3 separate regions of the Homo sapiens genome follow, and regions 1 and 2 are each linked to region 3. Evidence: promoter capture Hi-C in 16 types of primary human blood cells and fetal thymus (Javierre and others, 2016). All regions are on one chromosome and are shown on one strand. The core of a region is centred on a gene start or on the middle of the fragment in contact, and the rest is flanking DNA. Distances in the headings are between cores, read along the strand shown.

What was found. Contacts are between HindIII fragments. The CHiCAGO score rates a contact against its expected background, and 5 or more counts as called.
Region 1: a fragment that was not itself captured here is called in contact with the fragment with the promoter of IMMP1L in region 3 in 1 of 17 cell types (non-activated CD4 T cells); the score reaches 5.8 in non-activated CD4 T cells.
Region 2: a contact is called between a fragment that was not itself captured here and the fragment with the promoter of IMMP1L in region 3, in 1 of 17 cell types (fetal thymus). The highest score is 5.0, in fetal thymus.

The regions. Positions count from the first base shown.
Region 1 is chr11:33,698,948-33,703,329 of GRCh38, forward strand. C11orf91 (chromosome 11 open reading frame 91) reads right to left here and starts at 1,879. Exons shown (of 2, transcript NM_001166692.2): 1 at 1,298-1,879. The coding sequence starts at 1,793. It overlaps CD59 (CD59 molecule (CD59 blood group)), which reads right to left. Exons shown (of 4, transcript NM_000611.6): 4 at 4,063-4,382. RefSeq lists silencers at 1,545-1,634, 1,815-2,054. The HindIII fragment of the contact is 897 bases long and covers 2,166-3,062 here.
Region 2 is chr11:34,434,395-34,438,722 of GRCh38, forward strand. LOC105376622 (a long non-coding RNA gene) reads left to right here. Exons shown (of 3, transcript XR_931180.3): 3 at 1,852-1,928. Among named protein-coding and RNA genes, the nearest start is that of CAT, 2.4 kb to the right of the region's middle. The HindIII fragment of the contact is 1,653 bases long and covers 2,095-3,747 here.
Region 3 is chr11:31,506,259-31,511,092 of GRCh38, forward strand. It overlaps IMMP1L (inner mitochondrial membrane peptidase subunit 1), which reads right to left and starts at 3,364. Exons shown (of 6, transcript NM_001304274.2): 1 at 3,261-3,364. ELP4 (elongator acetyltransferase complex subunit 4) reads left to right here and starts at 3,509. Exons shown (of 10, transcript NM_019040.5): 1 at 3,509-3,749. The coding sequence starts at 3,527. RefSeq lists enhancers at 3,502-4,391, 3,524-3,813. The HindIII fragment of the contact is 1,748 bases long and covers 2,850-4,597 here.

The sequences.
Region 1 (4,382 bases), core at 1,364-3,863, 2.2 Mb after region 3:
TTTTTGTATTTTAGTAGAGACAGGGTTTTACCATGTTGGTCAGGCTGGTCCTCAATGATCCTCTTGTTGGTCAGGCTCCTGACCTCAAATGATCCACCCGCATTGGCCCCCCCAAAGTGCTGAGATTACAAGTGCCAGCCACCACACCCGGCCCCTGGATTTCTTAACTATGTATTCGGTTAAGATTTCTTAACTATGAATACATAGTATTATGTATGTATTCATAGTTAAGAAATCCAGGACTTAGCAAAGCCCAGTTTTTCTAGGGACTGTCTTCCTTCCATGGCTATGAGAAAGGGTGCATTACAGTGTGTCTGATGAACTGAAGACCATTTCCATGGCCACACGGACCTAAGCATTTAGGTTATTTCATACTTCCCTTCTCTGTGTGGCAGGGGAAGCCAACTTAAGCCGTTATATACGATAGTTGGAATGATCTTTTTAGAACTATCTGCCCTTCTCCAGTGGTCAAGGACAAGCCTTAGCCAAAACAAGTGATGGGAAAGACAAAGTCTGCAGGACAACCTACCGCTACTGAAAGTTCTACTTTGCAATAGGTCCTTCTTGGAGTACAAGGCATTTAACAACTTTACCCTCCAACAGGGAGGAGTCATTCAGCTCGTAGGCTGAGGGATCCTGCCCGCATCAGCACACGTGGTCCAGAGCCCTAAGACTTCAGACGTAAGACCAGATATCAGCCCAGGATCCTGGTGAGAGAACTACCGGCGCCAAGGCCACAGAGTCCCAGGGGGGCTGCCCCCCAGCATTGAGAAGTGGAGTGTCCCAAAGCTGCCCTGGAAACGGCCTTGGGCCTTGTGGTTCTTGCACAACTCCCACCTCCCCCTACAGACAACTGACAGTCACCTTACTTCACCTTCCCCCCATGGAGAGCCCCGGTTTAGGACCGAACATTAAAGCTTAGGGACTGTCTGTGGTGGGTGGAGCTCCAGAGTACAGGGTAGGAGGATGACTGTGCAGGAGGATTAAAGTTCAGGACGGGGTGGTGGCGGATGGAGTTCCAGGTGTGGAGGCTCAGAGTCCAGATGACCCAAAGGGTTTAGGACGGAGGGAGGATGGAGTTTGGGACTAAGAGGCTCATGAAGTTCAGATCTGTGGTGGGGGGAGGAGTCGGTTAAGTCCAGGATAAGGGAGTCTGGGTGCTAGGGGATAGATTTTGGATCTGGGACTACTGGGGGCTGGAGTCAAACCAGGCTACATTTCGGGTCGGGGCACGGAGCCAAGGAGGGAGCTAGGGCAGGCTAAGGCTGGGCTCGGTGGCCCTGGCGAGGTCACGCACAGCTCTGGGAGTCGAAGCCGTCCCCAGTGATGGTGAGCAACTCCAGCTCCTTAATCCGGATCTCCAGCTCGCAGAGCTCCTCCGGGTGGGAGGCAGAGGCGAGCCTGGGGGTCGAGGGGCAGGGGACCAGGGGCGAGGCAACCACCTCAGGCCCCGGCGGCGGTGAGTAGAAGAAGCGCAGAGGCTCGTAGGGGATGGAGGCCAGGCCGGAGGGCCAGGGCGAGGGCCAGGGGCGCTCGCTGGAGGGACCCAGGCCGGGTGGTGGCGGGGGCGGGGGCGCCGGGGCGGGGAGCGCCTGGGACAGGGACCGGGCCCCCGCCGCCCCGCCCACTGGCGCCCCGCCCGCCTTCAGCGGCACGAAGAGCTTCTTCCAGATGTTGAAGTCGCTGAGCGGGGACGAGGAGATGCCGCGGTCGTACAGGGACGGGAAATAGAGGGGCGGAGCCGACCGCTGGCTCATGGTGGGGCTGTGGCTGCCGCGCCGCCCCTTTGGCATCGTTTGAATGAGGGTCTGCGTGGGAGGAACCCCGCGCCGGGAGACGCGCGCTCAGGCCCCGAGTCGCCGGGGTTTCGAGGTTCCACAAGCCCCGCCCCGATGGAGCGCGGCCCCACCCTTTCGCCTCAGCCCGGCCCCTAACAGGCGGGGTTCCAAAGCCCGGACGACCACGTCCCGGAACGCGGCCCCGCCCACCTCGGCTGGCCGCACCCCGCAGTTAGAAAGCCACGCCCCCTGGCTCGCCTCGCCTCGCCTCCCGTCCCTCGACTCCGCCCACCGCCTCGCTCTTGCTCTGCGACCCCGCTGGCTTCCGTTGTCATATCCCAGCATACCCTCATCCAGAACAGGCAGCGGGCCAGGGCTGCAGAAGAAAGCTTACTTCAGGCTTCCTCTCTTTCTCCCATGAGGGAGAAAAGTATTTCCTAGAAACCTGGCCCCTGCACCAGCAGACTTACCTCATTGCCTCACTGGCCGCGCCCACAGCAAAGAAGTCTGAGAAAATCAGTGTCTGATTTTTCATCCACTACTGTGGGAGGCAGACAAAGGAGAAGAGGATTGATTGGGAATGGCTGTTAGAGCCAACCTATGTATCTGCCAAACGTTAGCAGTGTTGAGGAAGATTCTAGAAAAGGGGATCCTCATCTGGTTTGTAATAGACCTGAAGGAGTGTTTTCAGTGAAATGCAGTTTAGTTCTCTTCCAAACACAGATATCACCAGGAGCTAACAGGCAACGAGCTAACCACCAAAAGGAAATCCTGTCCGCCCTACCTCAAATACTTCACCCATTGCTTATGAGCGATTTGGACATTTTGTCCAAAGGACATGACAGCTCATTTATGTGAGTAACCTGTATTAGCCATAGACTGAGGGGAAATAACTAATACATTTTCTTGAGAGCCTCTGCCTAATGATCACTGGTATGACTAGTGATGGGTGGAGGGCAGTTAAAGAGTCAGTATCAGCTTCACAAGTTAAATATATATATGCATATGTATCTGCACACACAGTGCAAAGTGTGTGTGTGTGTGTGTGTGTGTGTGTAGCAGCAAAGTGGAGAGAGTCAGATATTCAAGCTGGGTAGCCTTGGACAAGTTGCTTGACTTTTAAGTAGGTTTTCCATAAAATAGAAATAAGAAAACCAGGCTGCCTCATAGGGTTGTGATCAAACAGAAGACGGAACAGTGTGTGTGTGAAACACTTGAACTTGGACACTTTGTCCAAACACAAGAGGCAGCTGTCCCTACTAAGGGGCATGTCTGAAACTGGGAAGCTTTTTCTTCCCACACTGAGCTTCCCACACTTAGTTGTCACACGCAGTATTTGCTCTCTGACTTTGGCAGCCACCCATCATTGTTTATTCATACAAGTGATCACTAGGCTGAGGCTCTCAAGAAAATGTATTTCCCCTCAGTCTATGGCTAATACAGGCCATGTGCGATAGCTCAGCACCCAGCCTGTAATCCCAGCACTCTGGGAGTCTGAGGTGGGATCTCTTGAGGCCAAGAGTTTGAGAACAGCCAGGGGCAACATAGCGAGATTCTGTCTCTATAAAATAATTTAAAAAATTAACCAGGTGTGGTGGCATTTGCCTGGAGCCACTCAGGAGCTGAAGTGGGAGGATTTCTTGAACCAAGGAGGCTGAGGTTGAGGCTGCAGTGAGCCACAATCATAGCACTGCACTCCAGCCTGGGTGACAAGGCAGGACCCTGTCTCAAAATAAATAAAATAAAATAAAATAAAAAATACCCTTATCTTCCATTAGTTTCCCCCACATATTTAACTTCCCATAATTTACTGCCCAAGAAGCTCAAACCTCTTTTCCTTTGTCTTATCACTTTTCTACAATCGCCCATTGTTAAAATTGTATATAAGCTCTCAAGCCACTTCTTTGGGTTTTCACTTTGTTTCTGTAAGAACCCCATGTACCTGCGTAATAAACTTTGTCTTCTGTTAATCTGTCTTTGTCAGTTTAATTCTCAGGCCCCAGGCTCTGAACCTAAGAGATTAGAAGAAAAATTTTTTCACCCCTACAGAACCACAGTAATGGTAAGAACCAGGGTTTTGGACTCAAGACTTGGGACCAAACCCTGGATCCACTATGTATTTGGCTGTGCGGCTGAACCTTTCTCAACCTCATTTTTTCATCAATATAATGGGAATAGTAATGGCATCTACTTGCTTAGGTTGGCAAGACTAAGTGAGACAGTTTAAGTACCTGGCAATGGCTTGTGTTCAACATTAGCTCTTGTTATTACATATTAAAGGCCCTTAGAAGGAAAAGAGATTTTGCGTTATATTTTTTAAATGAAGCAATACAATCATTTTTTATGTATATATCTAGTTGAGGAGAAAAAATTACAGATTTTTTCCCCCTTACTCCAAGATAATCTAAACAGATTTTACTCTGGATGGCTTAATTATAACATAATCCATGAAGTTATAGCCAGGGGGTTAAATAAGAAGTTGATGACAAACTTGGTTTCTCTAACAAGTATGCAAGAAAACTCAAGTGCCACAATGAACACCCATAAACTGCTGTCAGGAGGCAAAGTCCCTATGAGGTAATAATAAACCCACGAGGTTAAGGC
Region 2 (4,328 bases), core at 1,671-4,170, 2.9 Mb after region 3:
CTGATTATTTGTCTATGTCCACGTCCTTTGCTGTTGTACTCCCAGAGCCCAATAGGCAGGGGGCCCAGGACACAGCAGACATCCAGTATATTGGATGACTCCCATGGGTTAGTGGTTATGGCTGAACATAACATGAGAGGCCTTCTCTCTCAGAAGAATGTGATGAAATATGCAATTGATGAACATCCAGAATCCAGATATTCACCTGTCTTGAAAATTGCACTTCCAATCCACACTCTCAGTGCCTGTGACAGTATAAACTAGCTCGAGCATTGCAGAAAACAATCAACAACATGTCACAAGAACCTTAAAAAGTTCAAATGACTTGAACCAAAAATGACCTCTGAAAACAGGTCCTAAGGAAATAAATACAAATGTAGAGGAAGGATGTCACTGTACTGTTATAGAAGAAAACAATTTAAATGTTCTCAGTAAAGGAGTATGTAAATAAAGGAATAGTCCTTTGATTGCAAATTGTGTAGGCATAGGAGAAAAATATCACATTTTGGAAAAAGATTTAATGACTTGGAAAAAGTTTTATCTGATAATGTTAGGTGGAAAAAGCAGGATATAAGATTATGTATTCTATAGGATCCATTGTAAAACTCTCTCTCACACACACACACACACTCCTTTACAAACATATAAGAGAGAAAATATTGGTAAAAATGTTACCTGTTTATCGTAATCTTTGAATGATTGTTTGATATTTTATCCTGCATTTTCCAAGCCTCCATTAGTAAGTATAAAAAATAAGTTAAGGGCCGGGCGAGGTGGCTCACGTCTGTAATCCCAGCACTTTGGGAGGCCGAGGTGGGTGGATCACGAGGTCAGGAGATCGAGACCATCCTGGCTAACACGGTGAAACCCCGTCTCTACTAAAAACACAAAAAAATTAGCTGGGTGTGGTGGCGGGCGCCTGTAGTCCCAGCTACTCGGGAGGCTGAGGCAGGAGAATGGCATGAACCCAAGAGGCAGAGCTTGCAGTGAGCCGAGATCTTGCCGCTGCACTCCAGCCTGGGTGACAGAGCGAGACTTCGTCTCAAAAAAAAAAGAAAAAAAAGTGAAGGTAAAAACAAATTCCCAATTATTATTTCTATGTTTCTTCTGTTTTTTGTTTTGTTTTGTTTTTGAGACGGAGTCTTGCTCTGTCACCCGGGCTGGAGTGCAGTGGCATGACCCCGGCTCACTGCAACCTCTGCCACCTGGGTTCAAGCGATTCTCCTGCCTCAGCCTCACGTGCAGCTGGGACTACAGGCAAGAGCCACCACGCCCAGCTAATTTTTGTATTTTTAGCAGAGACAGGGTTTTGCCATGTTGACCAGGCTGGTCTTGAACTCCTGACCTCAAGAGATCCACCTGTCTTGGCCTCCCAAAGTGCTGGGATTACAGGCATGAGCCACCAGGCCTGGCCTATGTTTCCTTTTTTTGCAAACACCAGATCAGTAGCGTGGCACGTAAGGCCGAGGCGGGAAAAGGCACATCCATGTTCTTCTCCTTAGCATAGCTCATGCTATGGCCATCACCAGACACCAGAGGACATCTGGGTTGCCTCCTCCCAAGTAGGCAATTATTCATATTAAAGCGGGAAAGATATGGTGCAGCCAAATAGGCAGAGCAGAAGGTATGTGCTGCTACTGCATATAACACCACTGCTACTTTTTAAAGCAAATCCCACCTTCTTCTTTGGCTTGCTCAAGCCTGTTCCACAGTGAACAGGAGTCATGGAGCTGTGGTGATGTTTATTCTCTTCTCTTAAAGCCAACAGCCAATACTGAATTGTAACTCTCTTTGTTTCTTGTTGTGTTCTTTTCTCTTCCTTTTTGCCTAACTCTGAATTTACCTCACAAGGCCACTGTGAAGAGAATGAAACTGAAATATGTAGAACATTCTCGGCCTCTCTGAGGATGGGTGGAATCAGAACAGAGTAATTACCCCTTGTGCTGTCTTGTATGCCTGTCATCCAACAACACATGATGTTCATTCTCTCCATTCTTTTCTTGCAATACTGATGAAATAAAATTTGTCTATAAAGATTCCTAGCTGAGTACTCAAATGTTTTTCTTGAACATTTGTTACATGGTCTACTTTGCAAGCTTGGTTTCAAATTTGTTGATACCAGGATTAATAACAGTATGTCTTGTGCCAGTATATTTTATTTTCATTGAGTTCTGAAAATTGACTTCAGAGAACAGCATTTTTAAAATAACATTTTTATTTATATCAATAAAAATACCCATGAATTCATATGACTAAAATATTAAAACCTAGAACCCAATTTGTTTACCTAACCAATCACTTGCAATTACCTTTAGGTAATTGTATTGGTTTGGTTTCAAGTATTTTTTAACTAGGGCTGATTTTAAGAAGTGTTTTCATTTAAGCTGTAATTATAGTCGATAGAACTTCCACCTAATATGTGACTTTTTTTAATTTTTAATTTTTTTGAGATGAAGCCTCACTCTGTCACCCAGGCTGGAGTGCAGTGGCACAATCTTGGCTCACTGCAACCTCCGCCTCTTGGGTTCAAGTGATTCTCTCGCCTCAGCCACCTGAGTAGCTGAGACTACAGGCGTGTGCCACCACGCCCAGCTAATTTTTGTATTTTTAGCAGAGGTGGGGTTTTACCATGTTGGCCAGACTGGTCTCGAACTTCTGGCCACAAGTGATCCGCCTGCCTCGGCCTCCCAAGGTGCTGGGATTACAGGCGTGAGCCCCCGCACCCAGCCTCCTATGTAACATTATAAATTTATTGTCATTACTTGTAAGCCTGCCCTTTATTTTAAAATACAAGATATGACAAGATCAGAAACCAGTCTTGTTTCTCCATTTCTTTCTCTAGAAATAATTCTTTAGGAATTCAAATCCATAGTAACAAAAACAAAGGAAAAAAAAACATGCTTTTTTTTATATAATGAATAAAGGTTAAGAAATGACTCCAGGTCTCTTATTTATTTTGTTGATATTTGTGTTGGTTAGTTAAGAAGATGATTTGCTCGATTATTTCAACATTTATTTATTCAACAAACTGTGGACTTTGGAGATGAACAGCTGAAGCTAGAATCCTGACTATCCCTTAATAGCTGTGTAACTTTGGGCAAGTTATTTAACCTCCCTATACCTCTGTTTCCTAATCTGTAAAATGAAGATAATATTAGTATCTAACTCATAGGGTTGTTGGGAGGGTTAACTAAGCAAATATACAAAAAGCTGAGAATAGTCCCTGGTATATAGTAAGTGCTCAATAAATTATGGATGGGAGGATCCTGACCCACATGGAGTTTACAGTCTTGGCAGTATGGATCGGGCAGGTAGAAAAAGACACCAAATTACACAGCCAACAGCATCTTTATAATTGTTTTTAATATAGGAAAAGTATAGGGTGCTAAAGATCAATTTGTGGCTTTCTTTTCCAATGAACTGCTAAAGTTCCACTTTTATGCCCAAGATTCTTATCATACTTTTGTAAGATCAAGAACAACATGTGAAGTTTCCACTATTATATATCCACCCATTATATGTAGTTGTACTGGAAAAAATTAAAAGCTGATAACTTTTAATTTGAAGATGATGGTATATACTATGTATATATATTAAGGTGCTTAAAGATAAATCCTAGCACCTGAGGAGGTGTAGAAATCATTCAAACTCTTTGATTACAATGACAAACTAGTCAGTAACTTACTAAATATTGTACTATATATTACTAAGTATTTTACTCTTCAACATAGCTTTTTAAAGACACAAAGCTTTTCAAAATTCCTGCTTACCTGGGGGTAAAATTTGGGGAAGCAGATTTCTCCAGTGTTTAAAGAAGCCAATTTGGCAGTGTACCAGAGTTGAATACATTTTTCCCATCACAAGGGAATACATTTTTCCCATCTAAGTTAAGTTGTTTTTCTCTGGTAAAGGAGGAAATCAACACCCATCTGTACGGAGATAAACGTTTCAGAGTGTTTTTATATTAAATAATTAGTATACTAGTCTAGTAAGTGATAATCCACGAATAAGTTAAGAAGAGCTAAGAAAGAAAAAGAAAAGCATCCATCCATCCTTTGGTTGCAAATAATACTTACATTAGCGTATGGCAAAATTTAATTTTGTACAGAGTAATTTAACCCAGGATTGCTGACTTTTTAAGAGCTGAGAAAGCATAGCTATGGAGCGCAAGGCCCCACCCAGCAGGGTCTAAGTATTCCGTCTGCAAAACTGGCAGGCCACCAACGGCCGCGTCCCAGGGCGGCCTGAAGGATGCTGATAACCGGGAGCCCCGCCCTGGGTTCGGCTATCCCGGGCACCCCGGGCCGGCGGGGCGAGGCTCTCCAATT
Region 3 (4,834 bases), core at 2,114-4,613:
GCTGTGTCGCCCAGGCCTGGAGTGCAGTGGCGCAATCTCGGCTCACTGCAAGCTCTGCCTCCCGGGTTCACCCCATTCTCCTGCCTCAGCCTCCTGAGCAGCTGGGACCACAGAAGCCCGCCACCATGCCCAGCTAATTTTTTTGTATTTTTTAGTAGAGACGGGGTTTCACCATGTTAGCCAGGAAGGTCTCGATCTTCTGACCTTGTGATCTGCACGCCTCGTCCTCCCATAGTGCTGGAATTACACGCATGAGTCACTGTGCCCAGCCAACATATAACTTTTAACTCTTCCTTTCCATGAATACTTTATTTATTCTCGTGTTTTATATTCAACTCTGCTACTTGCTGGTAAGTTCAAGAATTTGAAATTATTTGGGAGCAAAGATTTTATCTTTGTTAAAAAAAAAAAAAAAAAAGGCGGCTGGGCGCGGTGGCTCACACCTGTAATCTCAACACTTTGGGAAGCCGAGGCGGGTGGATCACAAGGTCAAGAGATTGAGACCATCCTGGCCAACATGGTGAAAGCCTGTCTCTACTCAAAATACATAAATTAGCTGGGCATGGTGGTGCATGCCTGTAGTCCCAACTACTCAGGAGGCTGAGGCAGGAGGATCATTTGAACCCAGGAGGCGGAGGTTGCAGTAAGCCGAGATCATGCCACTGCACTCCAGCCTGGCAACAGAGCGAGACTCCGTCTAAAAAGAAAACAAAAAACAAACAAACAAAAAACCCATATTTGGCTGACGCGCTGGCTCACACCTGTAATTCCAGCACTTTGGGAGGCCGAGGTGGGCGGATCACGAGGTCAGGAGACTGAGACCATCCTGGCTAACACGGTGAAACCCCATCTCTACTAAAAATACAAAAAATCAGCAGGGCGTGGTGACGGGCGCCTGTAGTCCCAGCTACTCGGGAGGCTGAGGCAGGAGAATGGTGTGAACCCAGGAAGGCACAGCTTGCAGTGAGCCGAGATCGCGCCACTGCACTCCAGCCCGGGGAACACACCTAGACTCCGTCTCAGAAAAAAAAAACAAAAGCATATTTATCCTACGATAGTGTTATACCAGATATATATCCTAATTTCATGAATACTCTGGTGTGTATATAGATCATCTTTCCAGAATTATAGTCCAAGTCAAAGTTGGAAAATAATTCTTCAGTTCTAGTAATGAGGCAAACAAAGCACCACTATCATCATCTTGGGAAATCTAAAGGGTTAAGTAAATACAGTAGGAAACAAGGGAATATGTAATACAGAAGCCTATAAAAACGAATTATACCATTATGTTAAGTGAAATAAGTCAGACACAGAAAGACAAATATCACATGATCTTACTCATAGGTGGAATCTAATAGTTCATCGCACAGAGAGTACAATGGTGTTTACCAGAGGCCAGGATGGTTGGCAGGGGGGATGGGGAGAATTTGGTCAAAGATACATAATATCAGTTAGATAGGAGGAATAAATTTCAAGAAATCTATTATATAACATGAATTTATAGCAAGCTGACTATAGTTAATAATCATATATTGTATTCTTTAAAAAAATGTAAACAGTGTAGATGTTATGTACTCTTACCACAAAAATGATAACTATGTGAGGTAATGCATTGCTAATTAGCTAGATTTAACGATTCCGGAATGTACATACACTTCATAGCATCATGAGGTACACAAAACAATGCCATCTGTCAAAAAATAATAATTATATGTAGCATTTCAAAAAGTTCACAGCATCAAAAATATTTGTAGGGGTGGGGGGACAGAGAGCATCAGGAAGAATAGCTAATGGATGCTGGGCTTAATACCGAGGTGGTGGGTTGATCTGTGCAGCAAACCACCACAGCACACGTTTACCTATGTAACAAACCTGCACATGAAGCCCAGAACCTAAAACAAAAGTTGAAGAAAAAAAAAATTCAAGACGTTTCTATCTGATATTGGACTGCTTTGTCACTTTTTCTTTTGGTCTTCCTAGTGCTTATTTACTACAGGATAAAATTAGCACATGCTATTTAATGTGTTCATTTTAAGTACTATGTTGTTTTCTATGTGTTAATTTTATCTCCTCCAGGTGAGACCATTTTTATTACCATAGGTCTAAAATGACAAGATTAAGTCCAAACAGACAGTAATCACTCAACAGCTATTTATTGAGTAACTTAAAGATTCAATATGAAAGCAACCTTGATCAAAGCTTTCCAGTTGATATATTGTGAAACAGGGTTTTTTCCTAAACATGATTCTAAAAAACAAGCAAACAAACAAAAATCCTCCCCAAATGAAAAACTCCAGTCACTATTTAGCAATACTAATTTCAATTTATCAAACAGAATCAGCCCAAAAATTTCAACAGGTCAGTGAGATTTAAAACAATTCGATGGCAAGAATTTCAATGAGGTTTGGCTCTAATTAAAAGGTATCACAGATCACTGTCAAAGTCAATAACTCAGTAGTGCGGTAATGATTTGGGAGTCCTTTTCAATTTAGACATTTGTCAATCATGATTGCCTTTAAACATCAGTTACCCACTGTCCCTGCTCAGTTTTGAAAAAAAAATTAAATACAAAAATACAACTCAAAATACATGTTTTTTCCACACATAAAATTGGTATTTTAGTAATAAACTCTCGATTCAGGGTTCATAAAATAAAGTAGGTATACTTCTAATTCTTCCTAGCAGTTTTTTGGGGGAAAGAAACCCTAAGTATTTTCTGTTATTTGCAGCTGCTTTAACAGCAAACGACAATTAAATGTGTGAACAAGGTTGTCAGAGTAACACTTGTCATTTACACCGCTTAGGAAAGACATCCAAGACTTCCAGAAACACTAATTAAAATTAACAAAAGCTTCTTATCGGAACTTGTCAGAGAGCTATAGTTTGTCAGACACAGGAAAACCAGATAGCCTCAAAGTTCAAGAGTTTTCGCTCTAAGGTTTAATTCCAAACCACCTACCACTAGGCACTAACGAACTAAGCCCAGACGCTCAGCAACCAACTCATTAAGGTAAGAGATCCCATCCTTTCCATATAACACAAAATTAAGAAAAAGACATCGTGGGGAAGGCGGAGTGAATTTTCTATCAGAAATCAGAAGATAAATGAGCAGGAAAAAAGTCTATCCTCACACACAGCGGAGAAAGGTGCTAGCAATTGCTTGATAAGCCCTAAGGGTTTATTGTTTCACCAACCTTTTCTTTAACTCAATGTGAATGAAGGCACTCAAAAGGAGAAGAACGTTACGTGATATTACCTACCTCGGGCCCCAAAGAACCCTGGAGACCCTCAACCAGGACACAGGTGGGCCTTTCTCACCTGGGCCCCGCCGAAGTCGACCGTCCTTTCGTAGGGCGCACTTTTCAGCAATACGCCTTCCGATTGGTTGGCTCGGGACTGACGTCTCAGTCCTATTGGTTACGAGAGCCGCGGTTGGGGCGAGGAGGCGGGAGTTTGGCACTGGTTCTGATAGGACGGGTGTTTGCGTTCCCAGAGTTCCTATTGGGTTAACACTGGAGGCTCTAAGATGGCGGCAGTGGCAACCTGCGGTAGTGTTGCCGCGAGTACTGGGTCTGCAGTGGCGACAGCCAGCAAGAGCAACGTCACCAGTTTCCAGAGGAGGGGTCCTAGAGCCAGCGTGACCAACGACAGCGGCCCTCGACTGGTGTCCATTGCGGGCACGCGACCGTCGGTGCGGAATGGACAGCTGCTGGTATCAACCGGGCTCCCAGCCCTAGACCAGCTCTTAGGTCGGTTCAGAGCGGAGATCTGGGCTCAGCCGAGGGGAAACTTAGGGAGGGGACCTGTCGGGGAAGCCACTTTGACCCCACATCTCTTTCTGACCCCTAAACCTTCGGAGGAGGAGAGAATAGCCTGGTCTGATTGAGATGGAGGGGAATACGGGTTGTGTGGAGACTTCTGAGCGCTGTTAACTAAACATGTTTTAGTGCCCTCGCTCTCTATTTCATTCCCTGCCCTCCAACCCCTTTTCATATTACGGAGGAATTCGTACATGCTTTTTACCCTGAAATGCTTTCTAGTCAAGGGAAGACATTAATTTATGGAGATGGTTTGGCTTTCATTCAGGATACCTCCCTTCTGCTTTCTCCAGGCAGCTCACGGTTTAGACCAGCCTGCAAAAGTTTTTATAATTGTGAGAGACAGACTTCATTAGAAGATGCTGGAAAAAAATGATTTCCCCTCTTTGACCGTCAGACTGCCTGTTCTCTGGTTCTAAATCTTAAAACATTTTGGCTTTAAGAGAGCGAATGTTAAAGGCTTATGTTGACACATAATCCTTATAAAGTATTTTGAGCCTGTCGTTGATATTTAGATAGTGTCTGCGTTAAATCTGTGTATATATTTTTTATTTTTTCTATATACATTTTGCTTCCCAGTATTGATTGCTGCTACATTCCATACGACATCTTTAAATTTAACTCACATTTTAACGAGAAAAGTCTAGTTCTTAGGCTTTCCTTTAAAATCTCTGGAATTTTTTATGAGAAGCCTGCTGAAGAATATGCTTGTTTCATAACTGTTATATTCAAAGGAATGACCAGATTAAGTTGGTAGGACAGATTTGCTGTGTTAATAAAGCTTCTAGATTAATTTCTGAATGCTGTTTCATTAAAACCCCGTCTGTGTTTACATAACTTTTTTCATAGTGTGTGATATGTGTCTGTTAAATCTTGTACACTTTCATAAAATATAACTCATTGCTTGTTCTTGTACTTCGTTTGACATTTCTTTCGGTTATTTTCCCCTCAAAGTAGGCTTTTCATAGGTTTAGTGCAGAGAAAGTAAGAAGACCAGCAACCTATGAGAAAGAGTA